Linked DNA regions of Homo sapiens: regions 1 and 2 are each linked to region 3. The links are contacts of gene promoters, found by promoter capture Hi-C in blood cells and fetal thymus (Javierre and others, 2016). All regions are on one chromosome and are shown on one strand. The core of a region is centred on a gene start or on the middle of the fragment in contact, and the rest is flanking DNA. Distances in the headings are between cores, read along the strand shown. Region 1 overlaps CUX2 (cut like homeobox 2). Region 2 overlaps CUX2 (cut like homeobox 2). Region 3 holds the start of CUX2 (cut like homeobox 2).

Evidence for each region. Contacts are between HindIII fragments. The CHiCAGO score rates a contact against its expected background, and 5 or more counts as called.
Region 1: a contact is called between a fragment that was not itself captured here and the fragment with the promoter of CUX2 in region 3, in 2 of 17 cell types (M1 macrophages and total CD8 T cells). The highest score is 8.0, in M1 macrophages.
Region 2: a fragment that was not itself captured here is called in contact with the fragment with the promoter of CUX2 in region 3 in 5 of 17 cell types (M2 macrophages, endothelial precursors, M1 macrophages and 2 more); the score reaches 6.3 in M2 macrophages.

Annotation. Positions count from the first base shown.
Region 1 is chr12:111,233,618-111,236,564 of GRCh38, forward strand. The region is part of intron 3 of CUX2 (cut like homeobox 2); the gene reads left to right. Among named protein-coding and RNA genes, the nearest start is that of MIR6760, 69 kb to the right of the region's middle. The HindIII fragment of the contact is 166 bases long and covers 1,528-1,693 here.
Region 2 is chr12:111,210,454-111,213,679 of GRCh38, forward strand. The region is part of intron 1 of CUX2 (cut like homeobox 2); the gene reads left to right. Among named protein-coding and RNA genes, the nearest start is that of MIR6760, 92 kb to the right of the region's middle. The HindIII fragment of the contact is 2,251 bases long and covers 649-2,899 here.
Region 3 is chr12:111,032,749-111,035,989 of GRCh38, forward strand. It overlaps CUX2 (cut like homeobox 2), which reads left to right and starts at 1,417. Exons shown (of 22, transcript NM_015267.4): 1 at 1,417-1,492. The coding sequence starts at 1,430. The HindIII fragment of the contact is 8,699 bases long and covers 1-3,241 here.

The sequences.
Region 1 (2,947 bases), core at 361-2,860, 200 kb after region 3:
TATTTCTTGAGCACTGATTGAGTGTCATACTCAGGGCTGGTTATCCGACATCTGGGCTGTTGTGGAATATTCTGGAGAATCCTGAGAACATTGTGTTTCTTTTACAAAGGGGAAACTGATACTCTGATTGAGACACCAAGATCACATACTGAGAAGTTGAAGAGCTAGAATTTGAACCCAGGCCTGTCTGCATTAGTCAAAATGGGCTCGTTTCTGTTGTAACAACTTCAAACACAGATGAGGTTACATCACAGTCTAGCGCTGGTTGATAGAAGTTGTGGTGGGGGAGGCTCTGATCCATGCAGTCATTCAGGGATCCAGGCGTCTACCATCATCTGGTAGGTGGGAAAAGAGGAAAACATGATGGCCCTCCTAGGAGGTTCTCAGGGACCAAAACTGGAAGTGGTCACATCATTTCTGCCCACATTCATTTGTCCAGAACTCTGTTACAAAACCATACCCAATTTCAAGGCTATAGTCTAACATTATATGCCCAAGAGTGGGTAAAAAAACAGAATTAAGTTAGCACATAACCCTGTCTGCTGCCCTGTGGACTCCCTCACAGATAGAGCACCTCACTCACTGTCAGGGAATAGGACAGAGCCCTGAATACACAGCCTTGCACACAGTGGTACATTTTGGACAGGTGAATGGGAATGAAACCCAAGAGGCCTGCCAAATTCAGGGAGCAGCAAAGCAGGAGCAAGGAGGGACTGTTAACAATTTGGCAGATGTTATAAAGCTCCTACTATGCATTCTTCCCTGTGCTGAGCTGGCTAGAGAAAGAGATGAACTCTGTTCAGCAAGGAGGCTGAGCCACCATTGGGATCCCATGCCCAAGGTCCACTTAAAAAAAAGCCAGTGTGCAGTAGGAACAAATGTCCCAGGTGTACCAATGAGAGTGGTTATTTTTTGGGCAGGCAATCAGAGAAGACTTCTGGAGGAAGTGAGGTCCCAGCTGAGATTAGGAAGATTGGGCAGGATGGAACATGGGGAATGAAGAGTGGTGGTGAGCACAGGTCTTGGCATCAGGCAGACCTGGGTTCAAGACCAGTTTGAACACCGGTGAGGTGATCTGAGGCAAGCCACTTCCCCTTTCTTTTTTTTTTTTTTTTTTCTGAGACAGAGTCTCCCTCTGTCACCCAGGCTAGAGTGCAGTGGCGTGATCTCAGCTTACTGCAACCTCTGCCTCCCAGGCTCAAACAGTCCTCCCACCTTAGCCTCCCGAGTAGCTGGGACTACAGGCACACACCACCACGCCCAGCTAATTTTTGTATTTTTAGTAAAGATGGGGTTTGGCCATTTTGGCCAGGCTGGTCTGGAACTCCTGACCTCAAGTGATGCCCCCATCTCAGCCTCCCAAAGTGCTGGAATTACAGGCATGAGCCACTGTCCCCAGCCCACTTCCTCTCTTTCTGACCCTCAGTTTTCTCATCAATAAAACGGTACCTAGTACATAGGTTTGTCAAGAGGTTGAGTGAGCTGGTAATGCATATCAAGTGTTCAGCATGATACTAGCACAAAGAAAGCTTAAAATGAATAATTATTCCCGGATGGCTATTTAGTGAGCAGTGCTGGGAGGCGGGGCTGGGGGAGAGGACAAGGCCAGGAAACACACATGGGCAGGACACCAGGGTCCTGAATGCCAAGTTAAGTCTGCAGTTTGTCTGTGGGCAGAGGGAGGTACCACAGAAGCTTTTTGGATATATAAGGAAGGATGACCGGAAACCAAGTTCCAGAAAGATCTCTCTGGAGGTGTACAGGCAGGAGGGGGCTGACTCAGAGTTGGGTTGTGCTTTGGAGCACTTAAGAATGAGACGAGCGGCCAGGCACAGTGGCTCATGCCTGTAATCCCAGCACTTTGGGAGGCTGAGGCTGGTGGATCATGAGGTCGGGAGTTCGAGACCAGCCTGATCAACATGGTAAAACCCCATCTGTACTAAAAATACAAAAATTAGCCAGGCATGGTGGTATGTGCCTGTAATCCCAGCTACTCAGGAGGCTGAGGCAGGAGAATTGCTTGAACTCTGGAGGCAGAGATTGCAGTGAGCTGAGATCGCGCCACTGCACTCTAGCCCAGGCAACAGAGTAAGACTCCATCTCAAAAAAAAAAAAGAATGAGGTGAGCACTAATGATAACCTGGCCTGGGACAGCGACAGAGGAGCAGCAAAGTGGAGACAGGTTTGAAAGAGTTGGGAAGTGGGGATCCAGGTTGATGTGGCAGGTGGAGACAGAGGGTCTGGGGCTCAGGTTTTGGGGGCCAGTGGGACATGACACCATTAGCAGAAGAGGACCTGGCTTCAGGGAAACAAGCCCCTTTGTTGGATACCCAACCTGTGAGATTCAGTCTGGGAATCCTCCAGGAGCCAGTGGGACCTGGCACGGCCCCAGGTCTGCCTCTCGTCAGCCATATGACCTTAGGCAAGTCATCTCCCCTCCTTGAGCCTCATCTTTCCTATCTGGAAAAGGGGGGATAGTATTTGTCCTTCCCTGATAGGGTTGTTGTTGGAGGATTCCATGACACTATGCCTAGCACATAGTAGATGCTCAAGAAATGATCCTTGTTATCACCATCATTTTTCCCATTGAGACCAAACACTGGGCTAAGAAAGGGCTCGTGCTGAACCAACAGATTCCTCAAACACGCTGCAGACCAAGAATACTGTTCCTAGGAACATCAGTAGCCACAGCAGCCAGATCTCCTGGGTCTCAGTATATATCAGGCTCTCTGCTAAGCTTGCTACACATACTGACTTTAGAAATCATTGTCACAAGCCCCTGGGATAGGGGTTATTATTATGCCTGTTGTAGAGATGAGTGACTGAGGCGTAAAGACCAGGCAGGTAGGAGATGGGACGATCAGCGCAGGGGCCTCAGTTACACAGAGCAGATCTGCTTGCAAGGTGGATAATCATGCTCAGGTCACATGGAGTGTCAGGTCCAGCT
Region 2 (3,226 bases), core at 524-3,023, 180 kb after region 3:
CTGGTGGGGTGTTTTCTTAGCTGTCAGTTTATCTAAACATAAGATTAATATCAGCCAAGGCCAGGCACAGTGGCTCACACCTGTAATCCCAACACTTTGGGAGGCCACAGCAGGTGGATTGCTTGAGTCTAGGAGTTTGAGACCAGCCTGGCAACATGGTGAAACCCTGTCTCTACCCCAAAAAAATGCAAAAATTAGCTAGGCATGATGGCACATGCCTATAGTCACAGCTACTAGGGAGGCTGAGGTGGAAGGATCGCCTGAGCCTGGGAGGTCGAGGCTGCAGTGAGCTGTGACTGCACTACTGCACTCCAGCCTAGGTGACAAGAGTGAGACCCTGTCTCAAAAAAAAAAAAAGACAACATTTATTGAACACTTGAAGCTTTACACATCCATATCATTTAAAACAAATGCCCTGAACACCCCCCAGCTGATGGAGACGCAGAGCAGAAGCCCGCTGAAGAGAAGGGCATTAAAAAATATGCCTTTATAATCCACCAAGGAGATAATCCACACCTCAGTTATTAGAATTGACTGTAGTATATTTCCAAGCCCCTGTTTGAATCACCATACAGACAAGACACATTAATGTGTTTGTTCCATGAGATGATGTATGTTAGGAGCTTAGCATAGTGCCTGGTACATGTAAGCTTTCCATAAATGGTAGTTATGAGTATTTACTATTATTATTATTGGTGTTAGTGTGTTTACCAGTGAACTGTGGCAAGAATTCAGGGTTGAAGGACAAGCATAGATTTAGGCAAAATTGAGAAGAACGTGGATGTCAGTGACTTCGTCTGCTCGAGGAAAGACACCAAGGGCTGGGCTTGCAGTGGGGTCAGGGTGAGGGGACTGGTGATATCCCCCTGCCTTCCCTGGCTCTGTTCTCTCTGCAGTGTGGACACAGCAGACATCCTGCCTGTCAGATTTGCACCCACCAGCAGCCTGGGAGGTGCAGGTGGAGGGAGTCAGGCATAATTGTCTGTGAGGACACATCAGGTGGTTGGACTTATCCTGCTCTGCAATTTCCTTTCAGAACCTGGGCTGGATGTTTTTAATGAGAGGCAAAGTTCACCCCCACCAGGTATATTGGTTGCTGCATTGTGGGAAGGCACCAGTGTCCCTGCAATAAGAACATAGTGTCAGACACGGCCGGGTGTGGTGGCTCACGCCTGTAATCCCAGAATTTTGGGAGGCCGAGGTGGGTGGATCATGAGGTCAGGAGATCGAGACTATCCTGGCTAACACGGTGAAACCCTGTCTCTACTAAAAATACAAAAACTTAGCCAGGCTTGGTGGTGGGTGCTTGTAGTCACAGCTACTCGGGAGGCTGGGAGGCAGGAGAATGCCGTGAACCTGGGAGGCGGAGCTTGCAGTGAGCTGAGATGGCGCCACTGCACCCCAGCCTGGGCGACAGAGTGAGACTCCGTCTCAAAAAAAAAAAAAAAAGTGTCAGACACACAATAATCCAAGATAGAGAGCTGTAAACCCATGTCCCAGTTCTGTTTGTCCTGTAGCAATGTGAAAATCACATCTTTGTCTTCAAGAGAGATGAGAAAAACTAAGAAGAGCTGGGAGTACGCTGCTGCAACTCAAATTGACCCTGGCCCTCCAGTTTTTTTCTCTCCTGCCAAGTGAGATTCTGTCCACCTGGCCGCGCCAGTCTACCTTTGTCTATTGCTGCAAACACTGATCTCTCCTGTCACTGGATATTTCGGTTGTGGTCAGTTGTAGTTTCTGTATTAGAAACTGTGATTAGTTTTAAGTGATGATGAACCAGAATTCCCCCTTTTTGCTCATAACACCTTGTTCCTCACCTGGCTTAATCCTGATAAAAACCGGGCTTTTAAACTGGAAGCCCCCATGTACTTTCAAGTGGGAGTACCCTGTGCTTCGGCAAGAATTGGTTTCAGCACCTTGGAGAGCACCTGTTTCCGCTCCCCCACCAAAATAGAGACAGGGTCTCTCTCTGTCACCCAGGCTGGAATGCAGTGGCACCATCACAGCTCACTGCAGCCTTGACCTCCTGAGCTCAAGCAGTCCTCCCACCTCAGCCTCCCAAGTAGCTTGGACTATAGGTAATTGTTCTATTTTTTGTAGAGAGGAGGCCTCACTATGTTGCCCAGGCTGGTCTCAAACTCTTGGCCTCCCAAAGTGCTGAGATTACAGGCATGAGCCACTGCACCTGGCCCTTGCCTCTATTTCAAAGCTACTTTGGTGCCTCTACCTTCTCCCTTCTAGTCTCATAATTTTCTAAAGAAGTTAGACATTTCTCCAGAAATAGAAGTTCCTTCTTGGATTTCTACAAAGAAATCCATAGGTCAGGGACACTCATCCCAGCTTGGGGTGCCAGGTTTATGGTGCTCTGGTGAGCTGCTATTGAGCAGATTTACTGACTCTCAGACATGATATAAGACAATTACCATGCATTTCGTCTCTTAGAGGGAAAAGAATTTGCAGTGGGTTAATAGTACTTTTATTTCATTATCTAATGGCAAAAGTGTTTCATTGTGTGTGCAAGAGGAATGTGTATTAGTGATGACAAATGGGGTCTTTCAACACGGTGCCGGGCCTCATCATACATATGTTAGATTAAAGAGTTCACCCTAGAAATACACTCCCGCATCTGCGTGTGTGTTTTTAATAAATCTGATTGCAGAAATTTATTGCATCACCGGATTTAGGAAATTATGGGGCTTGATTGCTGCAAATATAATCGGATGATATATACAGAAATGCTCCTCGAGTTATGGTCCAGAAAAAAAGCCCATCTCGGGATGGTGCAAGGAAGCAGCCGACCACATAAACAGAGCATTTCTTGAATTATGCAAATGAAATCCATGACAACTCATGGTGAATTGTACTCCCCTTGTGAAACTGCCACCATTAAAGTGAAGAAAGCTTCAAGAGGGGTGATCAAATATACATGCACGACCAGCAGACATTGTCTGTGATGTGTGTGAGCCGAAGCATCCCCCCTTCCATCTCTCTCTCTTTTTCCCTCGCTGGTACATCCTATAAAAACCTGGTCTGATACCTTCCTTGCATATAAGCCAGCAAAGCACCTTCCAATCCATTTCTTCTGAATCCAGGAGTCTTCAATGAAATATTTCTTAGACTTGAAGTGAACCTTAAATGATTTACTGCGAGATACACAAAAGGTCAGCTTACTTCTTATTGGCACCTTCATTTTTCCAAAATCTACTGAAATTAAAAAGCCATCTAT
Region 3 (3,241 bases), core at 167-2,666:
AGAGGACCTCGAGCTTGCACAGAGGCAAAAACAAACAAACAAACAAACAAACAAACAAACAAAAAAGCAGACAGAAAAATGTAAAACAAGAAATCCAGTCACCCCGGTTGTCAAGAGTCCGAAGAATTGCAAAGGACCGGAACCTCCCTCTAGCCATGCTGAAGACCCTCTCCCCAAAGACAATCACAATAAAGGAATGTCATGTTGCAAAGAACGGAGCCCCGGATAATAATGATGATAACAACAGCAGAAACCTCCGAGGTTTTTAAGGATCCGGAGCCCCCACAGCAGGGGTAGGGCACCCTCAACAGTCATAACAATAAAACAAGCCCACTGGGGGAAAAGGCCCTCCAGAGGTTTGGTTCAGAACCAAATAACAAAACCTCCAATAATCATCATCACAGTAAAAGGGTTTCACCTTGCAAAGCTGTGGGGGAGTCCCTATAATTGGGTTAAAGACCCCCCAGATAATAACAACAGAAATCCCTATTCCAAAGGACCTGAGGCCCCGCCCTCGGCCCCCGCCCGTAAAGAACCCTGAGCTACTACTCAGACGAAGCCCCCCTCCCCGCCAATAATAATAATATAATGGCGCGGAAACTGTGGGCGGTGGTGGTGACATTTCCCACGACTCAGTGGCGCCCCCGGGCGGCTCCCACCCTCCCTCCGGCCGGCGCGTCTACGCAGCCCCAAGTGCTGGCTGCGACCCTCGGATCCCAAGCATATCTGGCGATGGAGCGGCGGCAGCCCGAGGCACGTGTTGTGTGTGCTCCGATTGCAAAAGAAAAAAAAATGCATTTCAAACTATTAACTTTTTTTTAAGCGTGCAATGCCGGGAGCTGGGGGTAGACAGGTGCAAGCGGGGGTAGGCGCCCCGCGCGCCCGCCTCCCGCAGCGCCCCCTCCCAAACTTCCCTTTGCATTGATCAGCACGTTACGTCAGTATTGATAAGTTTGCAAAAAGCCAAAGTCAAGTGCAATCGCGCGGCACACCGACCCCGGACTTGGGGGGGAGATGCAGCGAGCGCTCCGCGGGCCCGGGAGCCGGCGGCAGGCAGGGCAGCGGCGGCGCCGGCGCCTCTCGGAGAGGCTGCCTCCCCCCAACCCCTCCCCTCCCACCCCATCCCCGGCTGCCTCCCCCGGGCGGGCGCCGAGCTCCCCGCCCGGCGCGCTCCGCCCGCGCCCTCCGGGGGTCGGGGGGGCGCACGGCTCCCGGGCCCGTTGGCGGCGGCGGCGGCGGCGGCGCGGCGGCGGCGAGGGGCAGCGGGTGGCAGGAGGCCGGAGGGCGCCCGAGGGGCCCCGGGCCGCGGCGCTCAGGGCCCGGGCGGCCGGCGGCGGCCCCGGGGCTGGGGGGAGTCCAGCCCGGATATTGAGTGCAGCCATTGAGAAAAGCCAAACTCTTGTGTGTGCGCGTCTCGATAGCCCCCAAGATGGCCGCCAATGTGGGATCGATGTTTCAATATTGGAAGCGATTTGATCTACGGCGACTCCAGGTTAGTGCGGGCAGCGCCGGCCGCGCGGCCGTGAGGAGCCCCCGGGCGCGCCCTGGGCGCATTGGGGAGGTCCCCGGGCGGGCAGGCGGACGCCCTGGGGCGGCGGGCGGCGGCTGCCGGGGCTCGCCGGGGCTCGGCCGCCCGCTGCCCATCGATAGGTATTAGGAATTGATCTCGCCGCTGCTCTTTGTTCGGTTCAGTCATCGATTAGCTGCCGCGACCATGGAGAAGCGCTAGTGAGCCCTCGGTCGGCGGAGCGGCCGAGCGGCCAGGCGGCCGGGCGAGGAGCGGGGAAGGCAGGGGCTACGGCCTCGGGCAGGGGGCTGCTGGCGGGAACCCCCGGCGGTCCCCCCTGAGCCGCACTTTGCGCGCCTCCCAACTTCGCGGCGCCCGGGGAGGCCGCGGAGCGCGCCGCTTGCCAGTCCGCACCCGGCTGGGGCTCCGGCGAGGGAGGGAGGGAGCTGGCGGGCAGGGAGGAGGAGGAGGAGAGGAGGAGGAGGAGGAGAGAGGAGGAGGGAGCCGGGGTTGGCGAGGAGGCGGCTCCGCGCCCCGCCGCTCGCCGGCACCTCAGCCTTCGCCGCCCGCCTGGCTGCGCAGCCCGGACGCGCCGCCACCCGGGGGCCGCCGCCGCCGCCGCCAGAGCCGCCGCCGCCGGACTGGCCGCAAGCGCCGGCAGACCTCTTCTCCTCGGGCCGGGGTCTTGGGGTTCGTCTTGCTTCTTGCCTTTACCCCCCCGCCCCTTCCATCCCCTTCCCAAGTCTAGATGCAGACGGGCGGTGGAGGTGGGCCCGGGCGCTCGCAAGTTTGCGCTCCTGCCTCCAGGGCGGTGGAGAGCCGGGAGCGGCGCAGAGCAGGTGACTCCCAGCCCTCGGGCCCAAGGGAACTTTTAAATGAGAGATTTCCTTGCTTGTTCTGCCTCCTGCGTTTCTCCCCGCTGCTCCCCTCGTCTCCTCTCTCCCGTCTCTGCTTTTCTTCTGTTTCTTTCCTCTCTTCCCTGCTCTTTCTCTCTCCTTCCCTAGGGCGACTCTTCGAAACCCCATCACTTTCTCCCCATCCTCCCTTTGTGGGAGTCTGTGTGCCTCCCCTAGATTTGGAGGTGTTCTCTGCGGACCCCGTAGGAGCCGGGGCTGGGAGGTGGAATCTCAGAGAACGCACCGTGGAGGCGCGGCTCCGGCCTCTGTTCTTTCCCGGAGTGCCCCGGACGCGCCTGGCAAGGCCCCCCAGCCTTGGAGTCTCGCAAAGTCTCGGCGGGTGCGGCGGGGATCAGGGGCGGGAAAATGGTGCGGATAACAGGGCGGTTAGAGCATCCTGCCTTGACCGTGACATTCGCGGAAGACGCGAGATCATCAGTCTGGAGATAAAAAGGGACCCACTTTTTTTTTTTTTTTTAATCCGCCGGCAAATCTCGTTAAGTTTCTTCTGATAAGTGGTTCCAGCACCCGCGCCTTCTCCCCGTCCTGGCCGCTTCCCAGTCCCCGTCCTTCCGAACGCCCCACTCCTCGCTCTCCCCCTCCCCCAAAGCCATTGAGCTGGGGAGAAAATCGGGGCACTGAGGCATGCAGTTAATAACTGCCGAGTGCCTTGCAATTCCGGGTCCGCACTCGAGTTGGGGCTACAGTTTGGTGGCCAACTGAGACGGGCAGGGCTGCGAGCTGTGCCTGCCGGCTTAAATGATGCTAAAGTGGCCTTTCTGGAAGAGTGGGGGTTATGGAGGCAGAGAGAGAGAGAGAGAGGGAGAATTGGGCAGCC